2 separate regions of the Homo sapiens genome follow, and region 2 is linked to region 1. The links are contacts of gene promoters, found by promoter capture Hi-C in blood cells and fetal thymus (Javierre and others, 2016). All regions are on one chromosome and are shown on one strand. Each heading gives the region's core, a stretch centred on a gene start or on the middle of the fragment in contact. The rest is flanking DNA. Distances are from core to core; before and after follow the strand shown.

Region 1 (6,379 bases), core at 2,798-5,297:
AAAAATGGATTACACCCCTTCACCAGATTTATCTAGCACTTAGTGGTTTGACAGTTGAACGCTGTGCAGGAGCACAGAGCAATGATAACATCTCAGCACGGCCTTCATTTCTATGCTTCTGCTGGTGTGACCCCACGTTTCCAAGTGTGGCTTTAACAAAAAGAGCTCTGTGGGTCCTGTGGGGGTCTCAGTGGCAGTAAGGACATATGAGGGTGCTAGAGGTGCCTGGGGATCTCAGAGCCTTCAAAATCCCTTTCGGCTTCCTTCATTGACATGTTCTAACAATCAGGGTGCCTGACAGAGACCGGTGTGGACTCTCTATTTTGGAGAGGCTGGCCAGGAAGGCCACACTCTTACCAGCCTTTTCTGGGGTGCGGGGAGGAACAGAGCTAGGAGTAGGAGTCACAGCATGGTCTTGGCAGCCACTGCATGGTAACAGTGGAGGTGTGGCTCACCCACGTCTCTGCAGAGTGTGGTCACATTCAAAGGACATCTCCCCGGACTTTTCTAGAAGCTGCTGGCAGGTCCCAGAGCCAACCTTCCCACAGTCCCTCAGAGGACCCCGTTTCTCCACTTGCTGTGCTGACTCTCTCTCTAAGCTTAGCCTGGACACTCTGCATGCCACTACAGGTGAGAGGCGGCAGGCCGACTCTTTCTGAAGACACCTCCTCCACTGCGTAAGGCTCCACACTGGGCGATCTGGAAACGGCTCCCAGCCCACTACGTGCCTGTTCCCTCCTGCACTGCAAAGTGGAAGCAGAGGATCCTCTCTCCTCATATCCACCTGGGCCGTGTTGGAAGCTGAGTATTATTTGTGCTGCCATACTTGAGTTTTTTTCTCATATGGGACTTAACTATTATCAATCCAGTTACTATGCTCATATGCATATAGATGGTGTCAACATTCTGGCTGGGAAATGCAGAGAAACTTTGCAAAGCATGGTCTCAGTATCCAAACACTTGGCATTTCTGGGGAAACTAGGAAATAGATTGGTTAATATGATCTTTGATATGCTTGAACTTAATATTGGAGGGGAAAGTAAGGGGGTGAGAGGTAAGGCAAGATTGGAGTTCATTTAGCTACTTTTATTTTTATTTTTTGAGACTGAGTTTTGCTCTGTCGCCCAAGCTGGAGTGCAGTGGTATATGATCTTGGCTCACTGCAACCTCCGCCTCCCGGGTTCAAGTGATTCTCCTGCCTCAGCCTCCTGAGTAGCTGGGATTACAGGTTTGTGCCACCATGCCCACCTAATTTTTGTATTTTTAGTAGAGACGGGGTTTCACCATGTTGGCAAGGCTGGTCTCGAACTCCTGACCTCAGGTGATCCGCCTGCCTCAGCCTCCCAAAGTGTTGGGATTACAGGCGTGAGCCACTGCACCCAGCCTGCTACTTTTATATCTATGTTTGAAATGTCCCACGACAGAGTGTGAAACAAGAATAAAAAGGCAAGCTTGGTCACTTTGGGAGACATAGGCAATCATGCTGAGAGAAGGGAACAGGGAAGAAGGTCAGAGAGGAGGGAAGAGGAAGACCTAATAATGGCATCCAAGTCCCGGTTCTAATGGTACTTGGGGCATCTTTGGATGCAAGTGAGCCAATAGTATGGGCTGAAGTTCTATCACTTACAACTAAGAGTCCTGTCTCCTTCATGAATGCAATAAACATGTTTGGGGGCAATTTTATATAAGCACGGTGCAAAGAAGCCCTTGTGTTCGCAGCCTGGGCATTGCGGAAAGCTTTTTGGAGTTTTTACTGAATTCTCTCATGTTCTTCTGTATGCATTAGGAAACAGGCTAGAGAGGACAGTATTCTGGAAGGTCATGATGCCAGAAGTGTGGGCCCCAGGACAGCCATGCAAAGTCTCTTCTTTGCCCTGGGCTGCCCTCTATTAGATTCTGAGCATGTGGGTCTAAAAGCCAGGAGAGAATTCAGCAGTTGTTGAGAAGCATACCCCTCTGCTGCTGGTCCCCTCCCTGCAGTGTGTTCCCAAGGTGGCCCCAGGCCTGTCTAGACGCTGGCTGTGAAGGGCACGCTCCTGTAGGGGCAGCCGGCTCTTCCACAGTGAGGTCTGTCAGAAAGCGCCCACGATAGGCAGGAATCCACTTTCTCATCTAATTTCCACCCATCTGTCCTCATTCTGCCCTTCATAACACCACAGAGTAATCCTTCTTCCCGGGACAGTTTTGCACATATTGGGGTTCTTCTGTCTTGTGCTCCACACATTGATTTTCTAGGCTGAAGACTCCCGGTGGGTCAACTCCCCTCCCACGGGATACTGCTGGCTGCCTTAGACACCAAGCAAGGGCATGGTATTCTAGATGTGTCTGACTAGTGAGGAATAAAAGAGAGTCCCCCCACCCCACCCCAATCAGTGCAATGCTTGCATGTGTAGATCCTAAGCGTGCATCCCTCCTTGGGTATAGAATGCTGTTAAACCAGTTCTGTCCTAATCCGTTCCCATTATGTTTCAATCCAAATGGGATGTGGAACATGGATTCATGGACCCCTACAATTGGAAAAGAGCTTGGAAAAGACTTCTCTAGTTTTTCCTGTAATAGTCACCAGCACTGAACCCGAGCACACGGTGCAGTGGGCTTTACCTGCCATTCTCTCTCCGTGCTCCCCAAACCCTCCAGGACGACCACACTGTCCTCATGTTGCAGGGTACAGAGGTTTGCTGAGGCCTGAGGTTATTTGGAAACTGCAGAGCTGTGAGTCAAGGGAGTCTATCAGATTCCAGGTCTGGATTCTTCAGCAAGAGGGTGGTGGCTGCCATGCCGTAGAGGGAGGAGGGGGTGCGTGCTCCACCCCACCCTGCTTGACACCAGCTTTGCCATCTTAGCCTTTGCTGGGCCGAAGCCCTATTCTCAGAGCTCCGGCACTGAACCACAGAAACCACAGGAGGCCCTAGAACGGAACTCTGAGACTGTTGGGCCTTTAACTCTGTGACTGTTGGGCCTGGGACTGGCTTCATTTGTAAACTCTGGCTCTCAGAGCCAGTGCTCAGCAGGAAAACAGCCTCAGGGCCCCTGCCCCTCAACAGCAGTCTGTAGTCCAGGGAGGTATCACCTGGCCTGGAGAGGGGCTCCCCAACTCCTCACATTTAGGGGAAATCTTAGCTGGTTCCGTAAGAAACTGTGTCCCCTTCTCAGGACTGTGTTCCTCAATAGGCCTCCCAGCCTGGCCAGTCACTGTGCGAGCCCTGTCACCTCTCCTGGGGGCAGAGGGAAGAGGTCTGGATGGAGCAGCACCATCTCTGAGGGCCCCCAGATCCCCAAACCCATGGGCTAGTCACAAACAAGTCTCACCAGCAGCCTCACAGGAGGACCATTTGCCATACAGAGTGGAAAATGATGAACGTTTGGCAAAAGGCTAGCACGGGGGTTCAGGGAAACCAAGACTCCAGGTGGTGCCAGCCCCTCCCCTGGGGAATGGGAGCAGCCTGGTGTGAAATATTCTTGCCCAAAGTCAGCAGCCAAGTGTTCTGGGTGCCACGTGCCTCACGCACACTGCAGGTCAGGTTCTCAGAAGAGCTGGCCCAGGGTCTGGGGGTGAAAAAAAACTGGGGGATTTGGGGGAGGCCTGGAAAGGGTGGGGTTCATCCAGGACCCCAGAAGGGGCAAGCTTGTCTATTGAGAGCTGGTGAGGAAGAGGGTGACAGGGCACCTCTTGGTCCTGGGAACGGGTGCTTGACTCAGCAGAGACCAACCCAGGGCTGAGGGACAACCCTCTGGGCCTGGCGGGGAGGCAAGAGAGATGGGAGGTGAGGAGGAAGGAGTGGGGAGCAAAAGTGGGGAGAAGGGGAGAGAGGTGGAAGAGTGTTGCGAAGGTGAAGAAAGAGGAGGAAAAAGAGAAGGGAGGAAAAGAAAGGTTGGGGGAGGGAAAGGAGGGAGGTGAGCAGGGGCGAGGAGGAGGGAGGAGGAAGGAGGAAGAAAGGGGCGGGGCCATAGGAGGGAAGAGAAGAAGGGGGAGAGGAAGGGGAAGGGAAAGGGGAGGAGGCGGGAAGGGAGGGGGAGCGGAGGAGGGGCCTGCGCGCCCGCCCCGCGCACTCCGTCCCCGCGCCGGCCTCAGCGCTCTCGCGCGCCGCAGCATCCCAGCCGCCGCTGCCGCCGCCGGGCCTCCCCGCCACCCCCTCCCCGGCCCGGCCGCCTCCCGCCGCTGCCGCCGCCGCCGCCGCCGCCATTCCTGGCGCCCGAACTCGCCCGGCCGGGAGCCGCCGCGGGCAGGACGCGCGCTGCAGGTAAGCGGCCGGGCTGGCGCGGGAGGGAGGGCGCGCGGGGCCGGGCAGGTGCGCTGGGGGCGGCCTGGACCCTCCGCGGAGCCCCCACTCCACACCCCTAGGCTCCTCACCGGACCCTCGGGGCCCTCCCCGAACCCCTGCAGGAGCCTCCTTCTGGGATCCCCGGACCCCTGGACTCCTTCCTGGATCCCCCCGGGGCCCCTCCTGGGACGCCTCCCAGAGACACCTACCCGGACCCCTCCGACCCCCTGGACCTCTCTGCTATCCCTCCCCGGCCTTCTCCCCTTCCCGGTTGCCTCCCCAGTCCCTGCGCGCAGGTGGCTCCTCTGGGCGCGGGGGAGCGGGGGCGCGCTGCATACCCGGGCCAGGGAGGGGGCGGTGCGCTCGGCCAGGCCCCGTCGCGCCCCGGCCCGCCCAGTCCGGCCCCGCCAGGTCAGGCCCCACTCCGGCCAGCCGGGCTCTGGCCGGGCCCCCGCGGGCTTCTATTTTGGTCGCGGAGGCCGCGGACCCTGTGCACTGGACCCGGCGCCGCGCACTCAGACAGGTGGGGCAGGTTGGGCCGCAGTGGTCAGGTCGCCGCCTTGGCAGTGAGTGCTGCAGGCCTCGGTTTCCTTTCGGGTTTTGGTTGCATTATTCTAGAACAGCCCAGGAGAACCACAAGCCTTAGCTTGGGCTGCACCTGTTGCAGCCGCCTAGTGAGCTGCAAGGGGCTGGCTCTACTGGGGTTATGCCAGTAAAAACGTGTAAAGGAGAGTTGAACTCGTGGTTGTCCTCTATTTTCTGGCTTAGTATTTTGGGGGGTAGGTGGGAGAGTGGGTGAATGGGAGTCTGTAAGTGGGCAGTTTGCGTCAAATGAGGCCTGGTGTCGAGGGCTGGGTCCTGCTTTCCGGAAGGTTTTCCACATGAAGTTGCTTTGCTTTTGTTTTGAAAACCTCACTCTGTGTTGAGCACATCCCAGGCTCGTGGGTGGCCAGGCCCCCGAAGGCCAAGCTGGACGTGGGGCCTGGGGCCAAGCATCTCACCCTGCTGTTCTGAGTCTTTTCAAATCCACCAGGCGCCACGGAACGGAAGTTTCCTTTCCTGGGGGTGACGTGACACCAGTGGCCTGTCACCTCATATGTGTCCTAGGCCTGGGGCCTGCCTGCTGGCTGCCCAGGCGAGGTTATTTGGGAATGTTTACTGTGTCCCAGAAACAGGCAGCTCTGGCCAGTGCAGGGGCAGGATTCTGGTAGAGATGATAATGCCCTGATTGTCATTTTGACAGTTGGTGTCTGCGTATATCATGTCTTGGTAGTCGTCAGCCAGAAGAAGAAAGCAGGCGGGCTCAGCATACCCACCAGGGAGGCTGGGGTGGGAAGATGAGGGATGCACTGGCCTGTTTCTGTGAGCAAAGACTGCCCTCCCATAAGGCCAGACCTTCAGACTGAGAAGAGTGTACGTGGTACACTCAGCGAGTCAAACAAAGAAATAGAAACACATCACTGGTGCCAGGAGCAGCCCTGGGGTCCCAGGAGGGTGGGCCGCTTAGGAGTTGGTAGACGGTGGAACTCAGTGGCTGTATTTCAGAGTGCAGACAGGCAAAAGGCCACCGTGGGGATGCAGAGCCCCAGCTGCCATGCCAGCCCAAGGTCTTGCAGCACAGCACAAGGGAGGGACTCCATGGGAGGGGGCCCACCTCCTGAGAAGCACACCCAGAGTCTGTTGAAAATGCAGCCTTGCACAGACCCCCCTGAGTGCCTGGGGTCCTGGGCTGAGGTTTAGAGTGCAAGACCAGCGACCATGTTGCATTTGATATCCAGTGGGTCTGGGGCCAGGGAGATGTCCTTGGTGACATCATCCACTTGTGGACAGTCCTCTCCATGTGGACCGCTGGAGGCAGATGTTACCTAGAGCCGCTTTCCCCACACCAAGCGGGTGTGTCTAGGCCAAAGCTTGGGAGTGCACGCTAATGGCCAGCTTTGACTGAGGAGGGAGGGAACGTCCGCTGCTGACAGCACAACAGCAAAATCAATAATGCATTGCAAAGATCAATGGTTTTCTCTATCTTCTGTGCTTCTGCATTGAGGCTGTTCAGGCTTCTGCCTCTCTTGGTTCCATTTCTGTTGGGGAGGGAGGGATGGGCGGGTCCAGGAGGGTGG
Region 2 (6,330 bases), core at 2,843-5,342, 600 kb before region 1:
AAAGGTACTTTTGGTTCATAACTTCTTTCTTTTTTCCTTTTTTTTTTTTAGATGGAATCTTACTCTGTTACCCAGGCTGGAGTGCAGTGGTGTGATCTTGGCTCACTGCAACCTCTGCCTCCTGGGTTCAAGCGATTCTTCTGGCCTCAGCCTCCTGAGTAGCTGGGATTACAGGCACACACCAGTGTGCCCAGGTAGTTTTTGTATTTTTAGTAGAGACAGGGTTTCGCCATGTTAGCCAGGCTGGCCTTGAACTCCTGGCCTCAGGTGATCCACCCGCCTTGGCCCCCGAAAGTGCTGGGATTATAGGCATAAGCCACCGCACCCAGCCATTTCTTTCTTTTTTTCTGTCTGATTTAAAAGACCACTACATAAAACAGTAATTCTAAATCTTGAGTGATGGGCACACAATGTATAAAGATGTAATCTGTAACAATAGCAGCATGAAGGTGGGAGGGAGGATCAAAGATCATAGAAGCAAAGTTTTTGTATACCTGTGAAATTAATTTGGCGTTAACTCAAACTAGACTGTCATAAACTAAGATGTTTCTTAACGGGAGAAGCAGGGAGGAAAGAGCACCAGAGATTCTGGTCTACATGGTCTGTGCTGAGGTCTCAGTTGTATTCATTTCCTGTTGCCACTGTAACAAATTACCATAAACTTAGTGGTTTAAAATAACAGATTTATGATCTTGCAGTTCTGAAGGTCAGAAGTTCAAAATTAGTTTCAGTGGACTAAAATCAAAGTGTTGGCAGGCTGCATTACTTCTGAAGGATCTAGAGGAGAATCAATGTCTTTGCTTTTCTCAGTTTTTAGAGGTCATCTACATTCCTTGACTCAGACCTCACATGACTCTGATCTCTGCTTCCATCTTCACATTTTCTCTGGCTCTTAACTGCCTGCCTCCCTCTTATAAGCAATCCTTGTGATTTTATTTAGTACCCACCAGGTGATCAGGATAACCTCCCCATCACAAGATCCTTAACCAAATCACATCTGCAAAGTTCTTTTTACCATGTAATTGTCTTAATCCATTTGGGCTGTTAAAACAAACGATCATAAGCTGGGTGCTTACAAAAAACAAACTTTCAGCCAGGCGCGGTGGCTCATGCCTGTAATCCCAGCACTTTGGGAGGCCAAGGTGGGTGGATCATTTGAGGCCAGGATTTCGAGACCAGCCTGGCCATCATGGCGAAACCCCGTCTCTACTAAAAATACAAAAATTTGCCAGGCATGGTGGCACGGGCCTGTAGTCCCAGCTACTCAGGAGACTGAGGCATGAGAATTGCCTGAACCTGGGGTGGGGGCGGGGAAAGGGGGTAGTGGGGAGGGATGTGGGCGGAGGTTGCAGTAGGCTGAGATGGCTCTACTGCTTTCCAGCCTGGGCGACAGAGCGAGACTTTGTCTTACACACACACACACACACACACACACACACACACACACACACACAATTATTTCTCACAGTTCTTGAAGCTAGGAAGTCCAAAATCAAGGTACCTGGAGGTTTGGTGTCTGCTCAGGACCCACTTCCTGGTTCACAGACTGTGCTTTCTTCCTGCACCTTCACATGGTGGAAGGAGCAAGGCAGCTCTCTGGGGCCTCTCTGACAATGGTACACATCCCATTCATGAGGGAAGAGTCTGCCTGAATTACCTCCCAAAGACCCCACCTCCTGATACCACGACACTGGTGATTAGGTTTTCAAACTACAATTTTTGGGGGGACACAAATATTTAGACCACAGCAGTAACATATTCATAGGCTCCAGGCATGCAGAAGTGGACATCTTCGCGGACTTTATTCAGCTCACCACATGAGACACAAGTGGTCTATAAGTCTCCCTGTGCGATGCTGAAGTGCAACCAGGGTTTAGAATTACCCAGGCAGAGTCTGGGATGCTCACACCTAACAGAGCCTTCAAGCCTCCAGGAGCTTCATTAGCCTGACCCACACCCACTCCAGACTTCCAGAATCAGGATCTCTGGGGGTGCAGTCTGGGACTGTCACTTTTTAAAGTTCTCCCACGTGATTCTTATGTGCCCAGGGTTGTAAATCCTCTCAGAGGAGACATCAGCAGTCCATACAGCCCAACACACCACAGAGTAAAGTCCCCTGAGAAGTTTCAAGAATCCCTGGACACTTGGTGACATTCAGAGGCCAGGGTTCCAGGTAGACCTGCACCTGCTCCTTCAGGCGTGTCTTTTTGGCAGAACTTCTCAGGTAATTCTGATGCCCATGAAGGTTGACCGGTTGTCCTGTGGAGGGCAGCACTGGCCTACAGATGGATCTAAGCAGCCCCAGCCAATCAGGCTGTTTATATGCAGAGTGACGCATGTGGCCAAGGAGATGTTACACGTGTAAAGGCTTTGCTTTGGAGCGAGCTCTTAAAGGAAATGATTTCTTTCAGAGCCAAACTCAGACACCTAGCAGGGAACAGTTTGAAAAGGTCACCATATACTTGACCCTTGGTAAAAGATAGGGAGCCTCCAAAGATGGAGATGTGTCTGCAGGACTTAATTGTTGAAGAATCACAAAGATCCTCTCTAAACTATTTCAAAATAATACCATCTAGTGTTGCTGTAATTTGTGCTATTAAAGGAAAAGTTACATGAAGGGGAATATATCTTAGCATGACAAAAATGCAAATTTAGAGTGTGAAGTTAGTTCCATTTTTTTAAATTCAGAATCACAGTAGAAAAAAATGTAAAAATTATTTAAAAATTAGAGATAGAAAAAACTCTGAAGACATCTTGTAAAACAGATAACCTGCCTCATAAAGCTACATGGTAGCTTCTCAAACTTCTCTTATTCTATCTGAAAATGGAAACATGGCTCCTTGTCCAGTGTACTCATATTGAGGTGTAGTGAAGATCAATAAGGGATATACAAATTAACCATTCAAAGTATTACAAGCAAAGGGCAAACAATGTGTCTGTCATTTAAAAAGTTAGGATTGGCCTTGCGCAGTGGCTCATGCCTGTAATTCCAGTACTTTGGGAGGCAGGCCCAGGAGGGCGGATCACGAGGTCAGGAGATTGAGACCATCCTGGCTAATACAGTGAAACCCCGTGTCCACTAAAAATACGAAGAATTAGCCGGGCGTGGTGGTGGGCGCCTGTAGTCCCAGCTACTCAGGAGGCTGAGGCAGGAGAATGGCATGAACCCGGGAGGCGGAGCTTGCAGTGAGCCGAGATCGGGCCACTGCACTCCAGCCTGGGTGACACAGCGAGACTCACTCTCAAAAAAAAAAAAAAAAAAAAAAAGAATTTATCGAGATAAACAGGGAAAACTATATTTTAAAGATCATCTGCTTATTTCCACATTTTTTAGTTGGATATATGAAATGTGCAATTAACTATCAACATAAAAAGTTGACTAAGATACTCAAAACTGAAAATCCTAAAATACCTACAGAAATAAATGAAACTAACATGGTTCTTAAGCCCCAAACTTAAGCAAGCACTCACATATTTGTCTCTGGCAGCCTGGCATATCAGCCATGTCTGAACGCCGCTAAATTTGATTCTTACTTTACCTACAGGCAAATAGCAGCATATGACTGTCTCTACAACATTCTTGACCTATAAATCTTCAAAGCAACAATGCTCTACTACAAAAGGAAAAAAAAACCAAGACCACGAGTAACCCATCTTCAAACTGTCACTCTAATCCTTTCTCTGACTGTCAGATTAAAGGTTGCTGCTGTCTGGAGGTCTGTGGCTTCAAATTAGAGATGAGATCATCAAAAAAGCTTAAATTCAAACTTCAGATTGCTGGCTTCACTATGCTCCTTGGTGAGAAAATAAATACGTAAATAGTTACCCATTAGACATGCTATCAAGAATAAGAATGAATCCTGCATACATGTAAAATATCAATAATAAGATATCAATAAACTTATTGACAATATTACAGGACACTCATGTCCAGTGGTGGTTAAAAATCCAGCCTGACCTTACAGTAGACATTGAGCTACATGCCAGTCAGTGATCAAGATCAAGGGAGGCAAGCTCTAGCCCCCACATCCAAATCCAACACAGCCTACTTGTGTATACAGCCTGTGAGCCGAGATGCTCTCTGGATTTTCAGTGAATGAAAACACATGAAAAGAACAAATACACTTTATGACCAATGAAAAACAAATGACATTCAAATTTCAGTATCCTTAAAGTTTTGTTGGGACTCAGTCACGTTTATATCTTTGGAGATTATCTATGGCTGGTTTCAGGCTATAAGGGCAGAGTAGCGTAGTTGTGACAGAGACCATATGGCCTACAAACCTGAAGATACTTGCTATCTGAGCTTTTATGGAAAAACATTGGTTGACCCCTGTTATAGACCATGGGCTTCAACCCTGGCTGGACAATGCAATCATTCTGAGAGTATTTAAAAGAACTGATGGGCAGGCCCTTCAGAGAAAGCTTTATACTAATTGGTCAGTTTTGATCTGGAAGCCCATGAAAGTTGATCGGTTGCCCTGTGGAGGACAGCACTGGCCTGCAGATGGATCTAAGTAGCCCAGCAGAACAGGCTACTTGTCGAGAGAACCAGATAAGTAAGTGTAATTTCAAGTTGCCCAGCCCTCCCCTTGGCCCTCTTCCCACCACCCTTGGCTTCTGAATATTTCCTTTGTGAGATTCTTTCTACAACAATGCCTTCCCAGGGAACATCCTTTGCTGCCTACCCTCCTCCGACAGATGTGCAAAGATGTGCACACTCAAAACACACCATCTCTCAAACATGCACGTGTGCACACGTGCACATATAAACCTGCAAACACACATGCATATATATTTACACACACACCGCTTGTGTGATCTCTGGAGCTCAAAAAAGTGGAAAGAGGATTCTATTAAATTAAGATTGTGAGTTTCTTATCCAAATTACGCACATCTCCTTCCCCTCATGGAATCCTCCTGGGCCCTTGAGCTTAAAAAATAAGCAGCTGTTCCTTGACCCAGATCATACTTATTTTAAGATCCAAAGCAGGGGTGTGCAATCTTTTGGCGTCCCTGGACCACATTTGAAGAATTGTCTTGGGCCACACATAAAATACACTAACACTAATGACAGCTGATGAGTTACAAAAAAATCGCAAAAGAATTTCATAAAGTTTAAAGAAAGTGTATGAATTTGTGTTGGGCCACATTCAAAGTCAGACAAGCTCGGTCTGAGGTTGTTTTCCTTTGAACTGGCTCTCTCACATTTGAACCCTTAGGTGGCAGTGGAAACTCACAGTTGAAATGCTTCTCTTTAAATGAGTGGTTTGTGGTGTGTGCTGTGTTGTGTGTGTATGCGTGTGGTGTGTGTAGTGCAGTATGTCATGTGTGCGTGTGCATGCTGTGTGTTTTGGTGTGTGTGTGGTACCTATATGTATGGTGTGATGTGTTTGATGTGTGTGGTGTGTGTTGTTTGTGTGGTATATGGTGTATGTATGTGGCGTATGTCTGTGGTACATCTGTGTGATGTGATGTGCTTGGCGTGTGTTGTGTGCAAGTATGTATATACCACATACAAGTGTATGTGTGTATGCCAAGTATGTATGTGGTATATACATACACATACTTGCACACAACAGTGTGTGGTGTGTTATGTTTGGTGTGTTGTGTGTGTGTGTGGGGTGTGGTTTGTGTGTGTGGTATGGTGTGGTGTATGATGGTATGTGATGTGTATGTGGTGTGTGGGGTATGGGGTGTGTATGTGATGTGTGCTGTGATGTGTGCGTGGTGGGTGGTGTGATGTGTGTGTGGTGCACATATATATGGGGGGTGTGTGGTGTGATATGATATGTGTGATGTGTGTGTGGTTCGTGTATGTTGGGTGTGTGGTGTGATGTGGCATGTGTGCTGCATGTATGTGGGGTGTGTGATGTGATGTGTGAGTGTGGTGTGTGGTGTGATGTGGGATGTGTGGTGTATGGTGTGATGTGGGGTATGTGGTGTGATGTGAGGTGTGTGTGCTGTGTGGTGTAATGTGATGTGTGCTGTGTGTGATGTGGTGTGTGTGCGTGAAGCACAGGTGTTCTGGGGAGCCCTTGCCTCACAGACACCACAGGGAGGAGAGGAGCGGCTGGATTAGGAAGCAGTGCCTGCCGGGTCTCGGCACTCAAGTGAGAACAGCAGACTCAGCCCTCAGTGAGTCCAGCCCCTGGAGACCAGGGCCCATGCTTCTCAGCAACAGCACAGAGAGGCCCGAACCCTGGGCAGCGACAGTTGCCGGGCATCATTGCCGCCCAGCCTTTCACTCCCAACCTTCCCATCTGGGTCACCGTCACATGGAGAGGAGCTGGGCTGGTGTGTGTTTCTATGGAGGCTCCTCGCAGGGCT

The links. Contacts are between HindIII fragments. The CHiCAGO score rates a contact against its expected background, and 5 or more counts as called.
Region 2: a contact is called between a fragment that was not itself captured here and the fragment with the promoter of SEMA4D in region 1, in 4 of 17 cell types (total B cells, monocytes, naive CD8 T cells and 1 more). The highest score is 6.4, in total B cells.

The regions. Positions count from the first base shown.
Region 1 is chr9:89,495,781-89,502,159 of GRCh38, reverse strand. It overlaps SEMA4D (semaphorin 4D), which reads left to right and starts at 4,047. Exons shown (of 16, transcript NM_001371194.2): 1 at 4,047-4,241. RefSeq lists silencers at 3,958-4,147, 4,578-4,727. The HindIII fragment of the contact is 2,547 bases long and covers 3,628-6,174 here.
Region 2 is chr9:90,098,432-90,104,761 of GRCh38, reverse strand. No RefSeq gene overlaps it. Among named protein-coding and RNA genes, the nearest start is that of MIR4290HG, 60 kb to the right of the region's middle. The HindIII fragment of the contact is 670 bases long and covers 3,758-4,427 here.